Regions from separate parts of the Homo sapiens genome. Here all the other regions are linked to region 1. The links are contacts of gene promoters, found by promoter capture Hi-C in blood cells and fetal thymus (Javierre and others, 2016). All regions are on one chromosome and are shown on one strand. Each heading gives the region's core, a stretch centred on a gene start or on the middle of the fragment in contact. The rest is flanking DNA. Distances are from core to core; before and after follow the strand shown.

The links. The method cuts DNA at HindIII sites, captures the fragments that hold promoters and counts their contacts. A CHiCAGO score of 5 or more calls a contact.
Region 2: a fragment that was not itself captured here is called in contact with the fragment with the promoter of ANXA1 in region 1 in 1 of 17 cell types (total CD4 T cells); the score reaches 5.1 in total CD4 T cells.
Region 3: a fragment that was not itself captured here is called in contact with the fragment with the promoter of ANXA1 in region 1 in 3 of 17 cell types (non-activated CD4 T cells, activated CD4 T cells and naive CD8 T cells); the score reaches 6.7 in non-activated CD4 T cells.

The regions. Positions count from the first base shown.
Region 1 is chr9:73,150,080-73,153,991 of GRCh38, forward strand. It overlaps ANXA1 (annexin A1), which reads left to right and starts at 1,786. Exons shown (of 13, transcript NM_000700.3): 1 at 1,786-1,845. RefSeq lists a silencer at 3,774-3,912. The HindIII fragment of the contact is 9,458 bases long and covers 1-3,912 here.
Region 2 is chr9:70,392,072-70,395,983 of GRCh38, forward strand. The region is part of intron 1 of KLF9 (KLF transcription factor 9); the gene reads right to left. LOC124900273 (a long non-coding RNA gene) reads right to left here. Exons shown (of 2, transcript XR_007061576.1): 2 at 986-3,912. Among named protein-coding and RNA genes, the nearest start is that of KLF9-DT, 20 kb to the right of the region's middle. The HindIII fragment of the contact is 782 bases long and covers 1,550-2,331 here.
Region 3 is chr9:70,562,760-70,566,671 of GRCh38, forward strand. The region is part of intron 22 of TRPM3 (transient receptor potential cation channel subfamily M member 3); the gene reads right to left. Among named protein-coding and RNA genes, the nearest start is that of KLF9, 150 kb to the left of the region's middle. The HindIII fragment of the contact is 5,245 bases long and covers 1-3,912 here.

The DNA.
Region 1 (3,912 bases), core at 536-3,035:
AGCAAAATGAGACTATACATGTTTTCTAGGTTGTTATATTTTATAAAAAGTAAGTGGAATTTTTTCTTCATTTCACAAGAGCATCACTGTGCAGGAATGTTCCAATAGTTCCATTACCAGAGTTAGGAATACAAACGCAAATTAAAGAAAAAAAGAAAACCAGATTTTGTATAATCATCTTATTCCTTCTCACCTGATGACATAAATATGGTATTAGAAAGTTAGTCTACATCTGTCAAGATCAATTTGCAATAATATCAATTAACTTAACTTGTTAGCAGGTAACTAATTAATTTTCAACTTACACATATGATAGTAAAAACATATATTGACATTTTCTTAAATATTTAGATTAGATGATCATCCTACTTCAGGATATGTTGACTTCATTGATATTGGCATCGAGCACTTAGAATGTATTATAAAATACTGCCAATCTTTAGAAAGTATTTTCATTAACTTCCTAAACTTCATGTTTTTTATGTGAAATATCTATGAGGAAAAGAGGAAAAAGAACAAACCACTAAATGCAGCATAAATTGAGCCATAATGCTGTGAGATTTTACACCTGTGCACTTTAATGGAAACATCATATAATACTTTGTAGGGTTTAAAGAAGAATGAAAATGAACCACTATGGAAGTTACCAGAACCAATTTTCCTCCATTGGGTGGGAAATTTCTTATGGAATGTGTTCTGTAATAGTTGCTGCTCCATTAATCCTTTCATTTTATAGGTCTAGTTCCTTGTTTTGGTGTTCAACTAGTCTACAATGTCAAAGATGTGTATCAAAATGTATATATAACTGATCTATATTACAGTTTATATATATAGTTCTATGTAACTGACTCTATTTAAAAGAATTAATGTAGATAGGCCTTCTGATGTCAATGCTTTTATTGAATGTCATAATGATCAAATTTTTGGCATTACCTTTGTTCAAAATTTTGAGCCAATCTGGAACTTTATTACTTCTATATTTCTTATTTATAACAACAAGCTATATCTAGGAACAAAAGTCGTTTATTTTTTAAGGCAAGAAAAATATAAATAGAAAATTATTCGGCACTGTGTAATGTTAAAATTTACAAATATATGTTATTTCTCCATTGTCACAAGAATTCTAGTGGGTAGACAACTTAGATAATGCTCCTATATACAAAAGTAAAAACAGCTAGGCATGGTGGCTCACGCCTGTGATTCCAACTCTTAGGGAGACAGAGGCAGGAGGATAGCCTGAGCCCAGGAGTTTGAGACCTGCCTGGGCAATATAACGAGACCCCATTCTCCACAAAAAGCGGGGGAAAAAGACAACAAAACAAAAGTAAAAACAGGTTCAGAAAAATTAAGTATGTCCCTAAAGTCACAGAATAATAAGTGATGGAGGTGGAATTCAAATGTAATATTTTGTTTGTTGGTTTGTTTAGTTTTGAAGGTAACATACTTTTTAGTCTACAACCTATTTAACTACAAAAGTGTGCCAATCACTGGTATTAGGATTGGGGCAGATGTATACTCTGAAAATAAAAGTGCAAAATAAATATCCCATCTGGAAATAAAAGTGCAAAATAAAGAGGGAGGAAAAATCAGCCCTTCCATTTCTTTTCCTTTGTAATGCCAGTTGAATTGGTTTAGTGAGTAGTTTTGCAAGACTTGTTTCACTTTGTTTTTGGACATAGCTGAGCCATGTACTTCAAACAGAAGGCAGCCAATTACTAACTTCTGGTTGCTAGGTGTGGCTTCCTTTAAAATCCTATAAAATCAGAAGCCCAAGTCTCCACTGCCAGTGTGAAATCTTCAGAGAAGAATTTCTCTTTAGTTCTTTGCAAGAAGGTAGAGATAAAGGTAAGTCTTGGTTTTCCTTTTAGTTAGTTTTGGTTGTTTTGAAAACTTTTCTCATCACTATGTTAAATGTTACTGCTTCTACAGGATTTATGGTTAGTTGCATTTAACATGATAAGTCATTCATAAATCTTTCTGTAGAATTACATTGGATATTTATATTTTAGGAATCACAAATTACAATATTTTTGTTCTACTTAGTTAACAAATACAAGTAAAAATAAGATAAGTTTGCTTAATACTGGCTCATTGTACTCTTGGTAAGTTACCATGAGAAAGAAGGGAAGAATGTGCTTTCCCTCTGGTAGCCTTAAAAGAATGTGTTTTTCCTTTCCTTCCCCTTGAAATATTTCTTCCCAAGAGCTGTGTGTTTTACAGAGAAATCGTGATGGGGGCTGCTTTTTGGGGGCAAGAACAAAAGTGATAGGAGTGGGCTGCAGGGAACTGTTTCAAAATAGTAGGACTTTCATAATTTATTTTCTTCTTTTGTAAGGAAAACAAGATAGATTCAGACCTCAAAGTGCTAATCATGCTCTTTGTAATAAACATTTAAAAATATATGTTATATTTGCTTATGCTATTTAAAATAAGAAGGTCCGCTTATTACTTTTTTCATTTAAAGAGGGTGTGGCCACATTCCTTTTCTTGTAGGCTCTGTGTCATATACAGTCTTTTCAAGTGCTGGCTGGAAAACCTAAAAAGAAGGGAAATACTTTCTGGGTAGTGTCAGATACATTATCCTAGGGGAATGTCAGTGAGGCCCTCCAACAGCTATTCCACTTGATTGTTGCATGAGCTAATGGCCATAAAACTCCTTAGAAAAGCACAAAGCAAAACTAAAGAAGAGTATTTACTAGTGTTGGATATATTTGTAAAAGTGAGATTACAAATCATGTATCTGGCTATTTTTTTCTTAAACATGTTCCTTCAAGAATTTTTCTGTTCGTTCATTTTAAATATTTATTAAATGTTCTGATTTCTTATGTTCACTGCTAGCTAATTAACAAGGATGGAATTTTTCTTGCCTTGGTTATATCTAAAAGATTGTAAAAACTTTGAGAAAGCAATGTTGCCCTCTTTCCACAGGAGTATTTTGGTAGCTGTAAGAGAATGCACATTGCAAATGACTCAAATGTGGTAAAATGTTGGTTTCATAATTCTGAAATGGCCTCTTCCCCAAAAGTGACAGTAACACCCTAGCTCCAGGCTCAACCACATCCAGCACATAGCCAACATTTAACAGATGTTGACAAAATAGTTAATAATAATATTATTAAGGAACCAGCCAGAGTTTCATGCTTATTAAATACTTTTTCAACCAGAAGGTCTGCAAAGGTTGATTTCTGAATATGACGTTAGCTCTCTCTAGACCTATTAATTTACGACATTTCAAATCAGAGGTAAACCAGCAGACCTATTATTTTTCAATGATAAACTATAAACAGTTTTTTGAAGTCAACTATTTCCTTTTCCTTTAAAATTGGACAGAATTTCATCAGGAAGCTCAGAACAATCCAATTTATATAATGCCTTCCTTCATTATGCTAATTTTCTTCATCTTCATCTACTTGAAGTAATATTTAAGATTGGCACTTCAGAGCTGTAAATGGATCTTAGATGATAATTACTTCAACATTCTTATTTTATAAACGAAGACCCTCTGGAGAAGCTAAATGTTTTTCTTGAGGTCAGATCGCCAGATAATCAAGAACCAGTATACTTCAATTTGTATTTTATATCCTATAGTTGTGGGTAGAAAATGTTCATTAAATTAGTGTAGATATGTTTTTTAAAATATTAGCAATGATACATGATATTCATTCAATAATACTTATTAACATCCTAAATTCCAGGCATTTTGCTAGGGATTGGAAGTACATACATAATGAATATTATTATTTGTATGTTAGCACGGGCCTCATGGCCTGCTCCTGGGGAATATAAACAAGCCAATGGAAAGTGATAATACAGAAAGGTGGGGCTGGTGTAGGGGTGAAGTCAGGATGCTTTGGGAGAGCATGGAAGGTCACCGAATCCAGTGCTGAGGAACTAATGAAGGGTTTCTGAAGA
Region 2 (3,912 bases), core at 691-3,190, 2.8 Mb before region 1:
CAGCTACTGGGGATGAGGCATGAGAATCGCTTGAACCCGAGGGGCGGAGGTTGTGGTGAGCCAAGATCACGCCACTGCACTCCAGTCTGGGCAACAGAGTGAGACCCTGTCTCAAGTAAATAAACAAATAACAGAGGACTTGAACTTCTAACTGGCCACCAGAATTTGTAAATTCAAATGTCTTCAGGAGCCAGACACAGGTCGGGGACAGGGTGGGAGCAGGTGCATTCAATCATGGATCATAATGGATTCCATGGTGAACTGAACAGGGTGCTTCCCCTACTTAGAGGCATTCAATTTCAACATTATAAATTATGGTGCCACCCAGTGGTGTGTACGCAGGCTGGATTCTGCTTAGGGACCTACAATTTGTAGCCCTTTGAAAAATCTCCCACCTTTTTAATACAGTGGAGAGTTTGGATCTAACATGCCATGATGTTGAATCTAACATCCCAGCATATAAGTTAATGACAGTCATATAATAAGGTATTATTTAGAAAATGATAGATGTTTTGCACTTAAGAAAGCATGGAATGGGGAAGTCACATGTAGACGAGAACAGAATTAAGGCTGAATGGGACCAGAGATGATCTACAGAGGAGGAGAGGACTGGCCTAGAGAGACGGTCACTCCACCTTCGTCTGGCAGCCTGGGGGAAACCAAGTCAGGCCCTCTCTTTGAGGCTCGGTGCTAAGGTCTAAAGGAGAATGGTCAGCCTTCACGCTGAACAAATCACACAGCAATGCAACTATCAATTAGAGAATCTTTAAACCTGTCTTTAGTATTAATGAGAGAGTTACCATCCTCCTGGGGATAGGGAAAAAAATACCCAACACACTTGTACCACTGCATTATTTCTGGCCTTCACAGGAAAACACACCCAGAGGCAGTGACACAATAAACTCCACTTTACTGGAGCAGAGCTGTTAACAGCACAAGTTTCTCTGAGTTCTCATTATTTATATACCACTCCCCGCCCCTTTCAGTAACAAGCTAAGCACCTCTTGCTGACTGACTCAGCTCAGAGTATAAAATAAATGTGATCAAAAAAGCTACTGAACACTGCGCACAATGTGTAAAAGACTTCCTTTGCAGAGACAGTCATCAGGCCTCCAGAATTCTCCTGGGCCTACGGAGGGTGCAAGAACAGTGGACTGGGGCCCCCTGGCTATGTGCTTGCCTACTTAGCACAAAAGGACACTTGCTGCTTTTGAGAGGGAGCCTCCTCGACTGCTGATTAGTTGATGATGCCAAATGAAGCCCATTTTTTTGTGGGCAGTCCTGAAACGAATGGAGGTGAGTTCTCCATAGAGAAGACAGAGACCGGGTACTTGCCAAGTGCCAAGCTTGCTCACTGGACATAGGCAACCCTCCCCAGACTCCCTGAGCTGTCCAGGCTGCCACTGAAGTCCTGCCTGGGGTCAGGGAGGCCTGCCATCTGAATGTCGTCTCTTTCCTACCTGGTTCTTCTCATCTTCCCTGCCCCACCCAAGTCCAGGGATGGGTCTAACTTTAATGGAGACAGGAAAGTCAAAAATACAAAATCAAAAGCTTCCATTGCATCTAGCAAAAGTAAACCAATCTGGTAAAAAACAAATCTAAGGGATTTAGGCCTCCTTTTCAGAACAGAGCTCAAACAGTGCCAATTAAGAATTAAAGTTTCTTGCAGATGTAGAAAATCAAGACTTCTTCTAGAAGAAAAATAATGCTCAGCCGCTCAAGATGGATCACTTGAACACAGAAGTTCAAGACCAGCCTGGGCAATGTGGTGAAACCCCATCTCTACCAAAAATACAACAAATTAGCCAGGCGTAGTGGTGCTTGCCTGTGGTCCCAGATACTTGGGAGGCTGAGGCGGGAAGATTGCTTGAGCCCAAAGGTTGAGGCTGCAGTGAGCTATGATTGTGCCACTGCACTGCAGCCTGGGTGAGAGTGAGACTGAGACCCTGTCTCAAAAAAAAAAAAAAAAAAAAGAGTGGTTTCTGATTGCAAAAACAGCACTAGGATTCCATAGATAAAAGAAGAATTTGGGCTGGCTGTGGTAGCTCACGCCTGTAATCCCAGCACTTTGGGAGGCTGAGATGGGAGGACTGCTTGAGCCCAGGAGATCAAAACCAATCTGGGCAACACAGTAACACCCCAACTCTACAAAAGAAATGTAATTTTAAAAAGGACAATTTGATATTATTAAATCATACTGATATTATTCCCCCATTTAACAGCTCATACACACACACACACACACACATTTAGTATCATTTAATATCATATACACACTCTTATCGTGTACAAAATAGTATATGATAAAATTGAACAACCATCCCTAATAAAAGCTTTCAGGAAAATAAAATAATTCCTCAGCAGTATAAAAGATCAGCTCTGAAACCTTTCCTCTGCAAGGTCAACAGTAAAATAAAGGTAGTATAACTACTAAAGTCTAGCCCAAAGCATAAATGGACACCCGCTCCCATTGCTATAATTTAACATTTTCCAGGAAATACTAATGAGTGCAATTAGATAAAATAAGAAGTAAATGGTGAGAAGAAGGGGGGGTTATAAAATAAGAATTATTTGCAGTTGACACAACTTTCTCTTTGAAAAAATTCAAGATAACTGAAAAATCTAATCTAAATTAAAGGTGCATTCACAGATGTAACTGTACAAAAGAGCACTGGCTTTCTTATATGCCAGCCATAACCAGTCAGAATAAGCCTAACAATAAAAGTTCAGGACCTTGGTGAAGAAATGCATAAAGCCTCAATATAAAAGAAAATGAACAAACAAAATGCTTGCCATGCCTTTGGATGGTAAGGCTCAATGGTGTGAATATGGCAATTCTGTACAAATTCATCTACGGAATTAACACACACCGTAAGAATTTCTTTTTCTAGAACTTGACAAAGTTATTTCTGAAGTTCATTTGGAAGAATAAACATGCCCAACTTGCCAAGAAAATTTTGCGGAAGAACAAATAATAAGTGAGCACTTGCAATACTAGTTATTAAAATGGATTATTAAAGCTGTAATAATTAAGATAGTGAGATAGCAGCACAGGAAAAGACAAATCAGTGGAACAGAGTAGGGTCTGAAAATAACCTTAAGAATCTATAGGGATTCTGTACATGGTAAATGGGGTATTTCAAATCAGTGAAACAGAAAATGTTTAATTCAGTAAGTGGCTTAGATGTCAGGTAAAAGAAAAAAATTAAATCTTAGTCCCTACCTCATACTTTTCACTCAAATGATTTCCAAATGGGCTATAAATGTAAATGTAAAAAATAAAGCCATAACGATAAAATATAGGTGAGCATTTTTAGAATCCTGGAATAGAGACTTTCTAAACATGAAACCAAAAGCAAAATCCTACTTGAAGGATAGTTTTGAATACGTAAAAATGTTAAACTTCTGCATGTTAAAAATATATATAAGTAGAAAAATTTAAGAATCAAAATAAATTAAAAGAAATTGAAGCATATGACAAAATGTTAAAATCTGTAACACAGAAAGGACTTGCAAATCAAAAAGGAACAGCCCAACTTAATAAAAGTGGGCAAGGATGCAAATAAATAATTTATAAAGTAAGAAATACTGGCCAGACGTGGTGGTTCATGCCTGTAATCTCAGCACTTTGGGAAGTCGAGGCAGGCAGATTGCTCGAGCCCAGGAGTTTGAGACCAGCCTGGGTAACATGGCGAAACCTCATCTCTACTAAAAATGCAAATATTATCCAGGCTGTGTGGTGCACACCTACAGTCCCAGCTACTCAGGTGGGAGGATCACTTGAACCAGTGAGACAGAGGTTGCAGTAAGCTGAGATTGTGTCACTGCACTCCAGTCTGGGTAACAGAGCCAGACGCTGCCTCAAAATAAATAAATAAATAAATACATAAATAAAATACTAATGACCAAGAA
Region 3 (3,912 bases), core at 488-2,987, 2.6 Mb before region 1:
AAATTCTAACCTTAGTATTTCATTATTTTGCATCAGGAATTAATATCAGAAATATTTTATGCAAATCTTGCCTTGGAAGAATATATATCTAAACTAGCCTATTGTACACGCCAGTGGGTTTGCTGTCATGATTAGGAGATCGATTGCATTAACAGCCCCAATTTCTCTCCCCTCCCTGGATCCACACTGCTTTGTCATGTGATGTTAGAGTTTCTATCACTAAACAGGTGGGATCTCTTTCTTCACCTCTTGATTCTGAGTTTGGCCATGTGGTTTGCTTTGGTGAATGGAATGTTAGCAAATGTGACCCACACAGAACCTTGGAAAAGCCCTTAATGTTTCTGTTTCCACTTTTTGGCTTCCGCCATTACCATAAGAGACATGCATGAGCTAGCCTGTTGGAGAATGAAACACAGGGAACCTTTGCTTCTAGGTGCTTGTTTTCTGAGCTGAGGCTGTTCTGGAGGAGGTGATAGCCCGCTGACCTCCTGGCAGGTGATTGAGCCCAGCCCAGACCAGAAGAACCATGCAGCCAACTCTCAGTCTTCTGAGCTCAATACGTGCTTATGGCGTTAAGTTCTGAATTCTAGGGTGGTTTTTCCTGTATCATTTTTGTGTTGATAGATACCTGATAAACAAGCTAAATTTCCCTTGCCCTGCTCACAGCTGGAAGAGGTAGCCCTACGTCCTTCAGGCTGACAAAGTCCTTTCCTCATTTCTTCACTTCTCCTTTCACCCAATTCAGGCTACAGATGATTGGAGCAGATTCCACCATTGACCAAGAAGGAGTGAGTTCATTGAATGGCCAGTGACTAATCAGACTCTTTGTGTTTAGAAATAAAACAGAAGTGCAGAGACTTAAGTTAGATGATGGCATGTACTTAAAGAACATATAGAGCCTGACCTCACTGGGTCATGTAAAGCAAGCCATATGAGAGAGGGATGGTGGAGGAAGGGAGAAAGGAAATGGGAGAGAGAGCAAGAGAGAAAGAGAGAAATGATTGATTGATTATTGATTGAGGCAGGAGAGAAGTATAGAGAAAAGCAGATGAGTGTGGTCATGTCTTCTGATTCTGACTTTACAAAACCACTTCTGGTTTTGTTCCCAGTCAGCTCACGCATGTCGTGCTCTGCTTCCTGTCTTTGAATGCCTCTGTGGTTTTCTCTTAGGCACTTACAGTCAGTCTTTATTGAACCTACTCTGTGTAGTTTTGTTTTCTTACAATCAACATTTTTCTCTGGTTGAGAACATAGTCGCTAAGACTTCAGAAGGAATCAGTTTCCTTGCCTAGTAGTTTCATCAGAGAAGGGAGGGGCTGTGAGAAGGGAGAGGGAAGCTCTGGGAAGGGTTAGAAGAATGGAAATAATTGTGTTTAACTCAGTTTTACTCAGGGCTTGCCTCATCATCATCATTACACCTTCCTTTTGATATTTGCATATACGAAATAGGATTAGATAAGTTCTTTCCTTCTTCAAACCAAAACAACAGAAAAATTTCAGAGAAAACATAAAATAAGTTACTCTTTCAGATTTTTGTGTTGCTGTCCACCTACCTATAATTCATCACAACTCCCTGACACGCAACAATACACCTTTCTGAGCAATGAGGGCAGGAGGAGGCACCCCTTCCCCTGTAGGTGAAGGGAGCTGGAGTCCATTCTCATTGCCTTTACTGTGGAAGGTTTTCCCTGTGAGTCCACACTACCTCAGCCTACAGGCCACACACTAAGGAATATGCTTGTTGTTTCTGTTTAAAATGGAATTGTATTACTTTTCAGAAGCCCATGCATATTTAGGGTATTAGAGTATTCAAAGAGGGAAGAGCCAGGGCCCTCTTCAAGAGGGGCCTTCTTAGGAAAAGAACCAGCAACCTCATATCAGGGCTCTCTGTGCCTGGAAGGATCAGTCCAGTGAGCCAGACTGCATGTCTATGTGTAAATGCACATCAGGGGACATGAGGCTACACCACCTCCAAAGAAATAATCTATGGCTCTTGTCGACTCCCATTGCATTGTGCCTGAGGGGTTATATGATATCTACAGAAATGATCAATGTGGCTCCTAATATTCAGGAATGCGTATATAAGCAAATAAGTTCCTGCTGACATTATTTACAAATCCCCTGGTAAGAGACAATGCAAGAAACACATCTGTACTTACAGCTCACGGTTCAGGCTCGAATCTCTCTGATCTGCAGGCACTAATTCCTCTCTGTGCCCTCTGGATCCCAAGCTCTGTTTACTGTTAAAACTTGAGCTTTTCACGCTTCAAGTGATGCTCCTCAAACAACCAAGAATCCAGACAATAGGCAGTCCACATTCCGCTTAGAATCTAAGCAGCTGTTGGCTCTTGTGTTGGGACTATGTGTCCAAATGTATGCTGCATATGAACTGCTAGGAATATGATAAAATAGTTGGGTGACAGCACACCCTTGTATAGTGGGCTAACAACGTTATTCTTTCCCAGAGCAACATTGACACGTCAGTTAAAATACAACAAATAAACATTTTCATCTTGGCAGATTTATCTGTTTTTATTTTTATTTTTTTTTTGAGACAGAGTTTTGCTCTTGTTGCTCAGGCTGGAGTGCAATGGTGTGATCTCAGCTCACTGCAACCTCCAACTCCTGGGTTCAAGTGATTCTCCTGCCTCAGCCTCCCAAGTAGCTGGGATTACAGGCACAAGCTACCATGCCCAACTGATTTTGTATTTTTAGTAGAGACAAGGTTTTGCCATGTTGGTCAGGCTGGTCTCGAACCGCTGACCTCATGTGATCCACCCACCTTGGCCTCCCAAAGTGCTGGGATTACAGGCATGAGCCACTGTGCCCAGCCTAGATTTATCTGTTAAAAAATAATAAACTGAGATACCAATCAAGTGAATTGCGGTGGGGGCGGGGGCGGGCCAAGAGGGAAAGAATAGGCAAGGCACTTTGCTGTTCATCATTTTTTAAATTATATTTTAAATAATCACATTATCCCACATTACTAAATCATTTTGTGAAGTCACTAGACACAAGGCACTAACCTTGGGTAGGTTCAGATTGAGACTTAGATCTGGCATTTTGCCATCTATGTCCTATGGGTAAGTCCTTTGATGTGTCTGAGCCTCAGTGTCCTCATTTCTAAGCCTGACCTAATGATGATAATAGAAATAGTGTTAATAACAGTGATGATGACACATTTCCAGCTTCCCTCATCATTCATTCAACAGGTATTTATGGAGCCCCTATTGTGTACCAGGCACTATTCTAAGTGCTCGGGATGCATCAGTGAGCGAAACATCAAAGATCCCTGCCCCTAGACTATCTATACTGGGAAAGGGATGGTGGTGGTGATAGTGGATGGACAGAAAAGAAACAATAGCATAATAGATAAATAAGCTAAGCAGGCTGTCAGTAGGTGATAAATGCTGTGGGAGAAAGTACAGAATACAGGGTAGGAAGGATCAGGTGTGATGCGGGAAGCCCACGGGTGGTGGTGGTAAGCCACACTAAGAAGGCAAGATTTGAACAAAGACTCCAACCTCAGATGAGGGAGTTGGCTAAGTGGCTCTCTGGGGAAAGGATGCTCTAAGCACCAGGCACTGCTTAGAGCTACATCCTGTGAGCACAAGAAGGTCCCTGGTCTGGAGTAATGCCAGGGAGTAGCTGGAGAAGAGGAAAGAGCACCGAGAGGTGGGAGCAGGGAAAGCAGCATGTGGAGGCTTTGGAAGGACCTCAGAGGATCAAATCAAGCTCCAAGGCAAGGAGATAAACTTATAACAGTAAGGCGTTATTATTTATTGTAATCGTTTATTGGATTTATTAAAGAAACTGAGTAATTGCTCCTCATCCATTCCACCTCTGGCCTGATGGTTTCTTATCTACTAAGTAAACCCTCTCTTCATGATTTCTATTTTCCCCACCAGATCC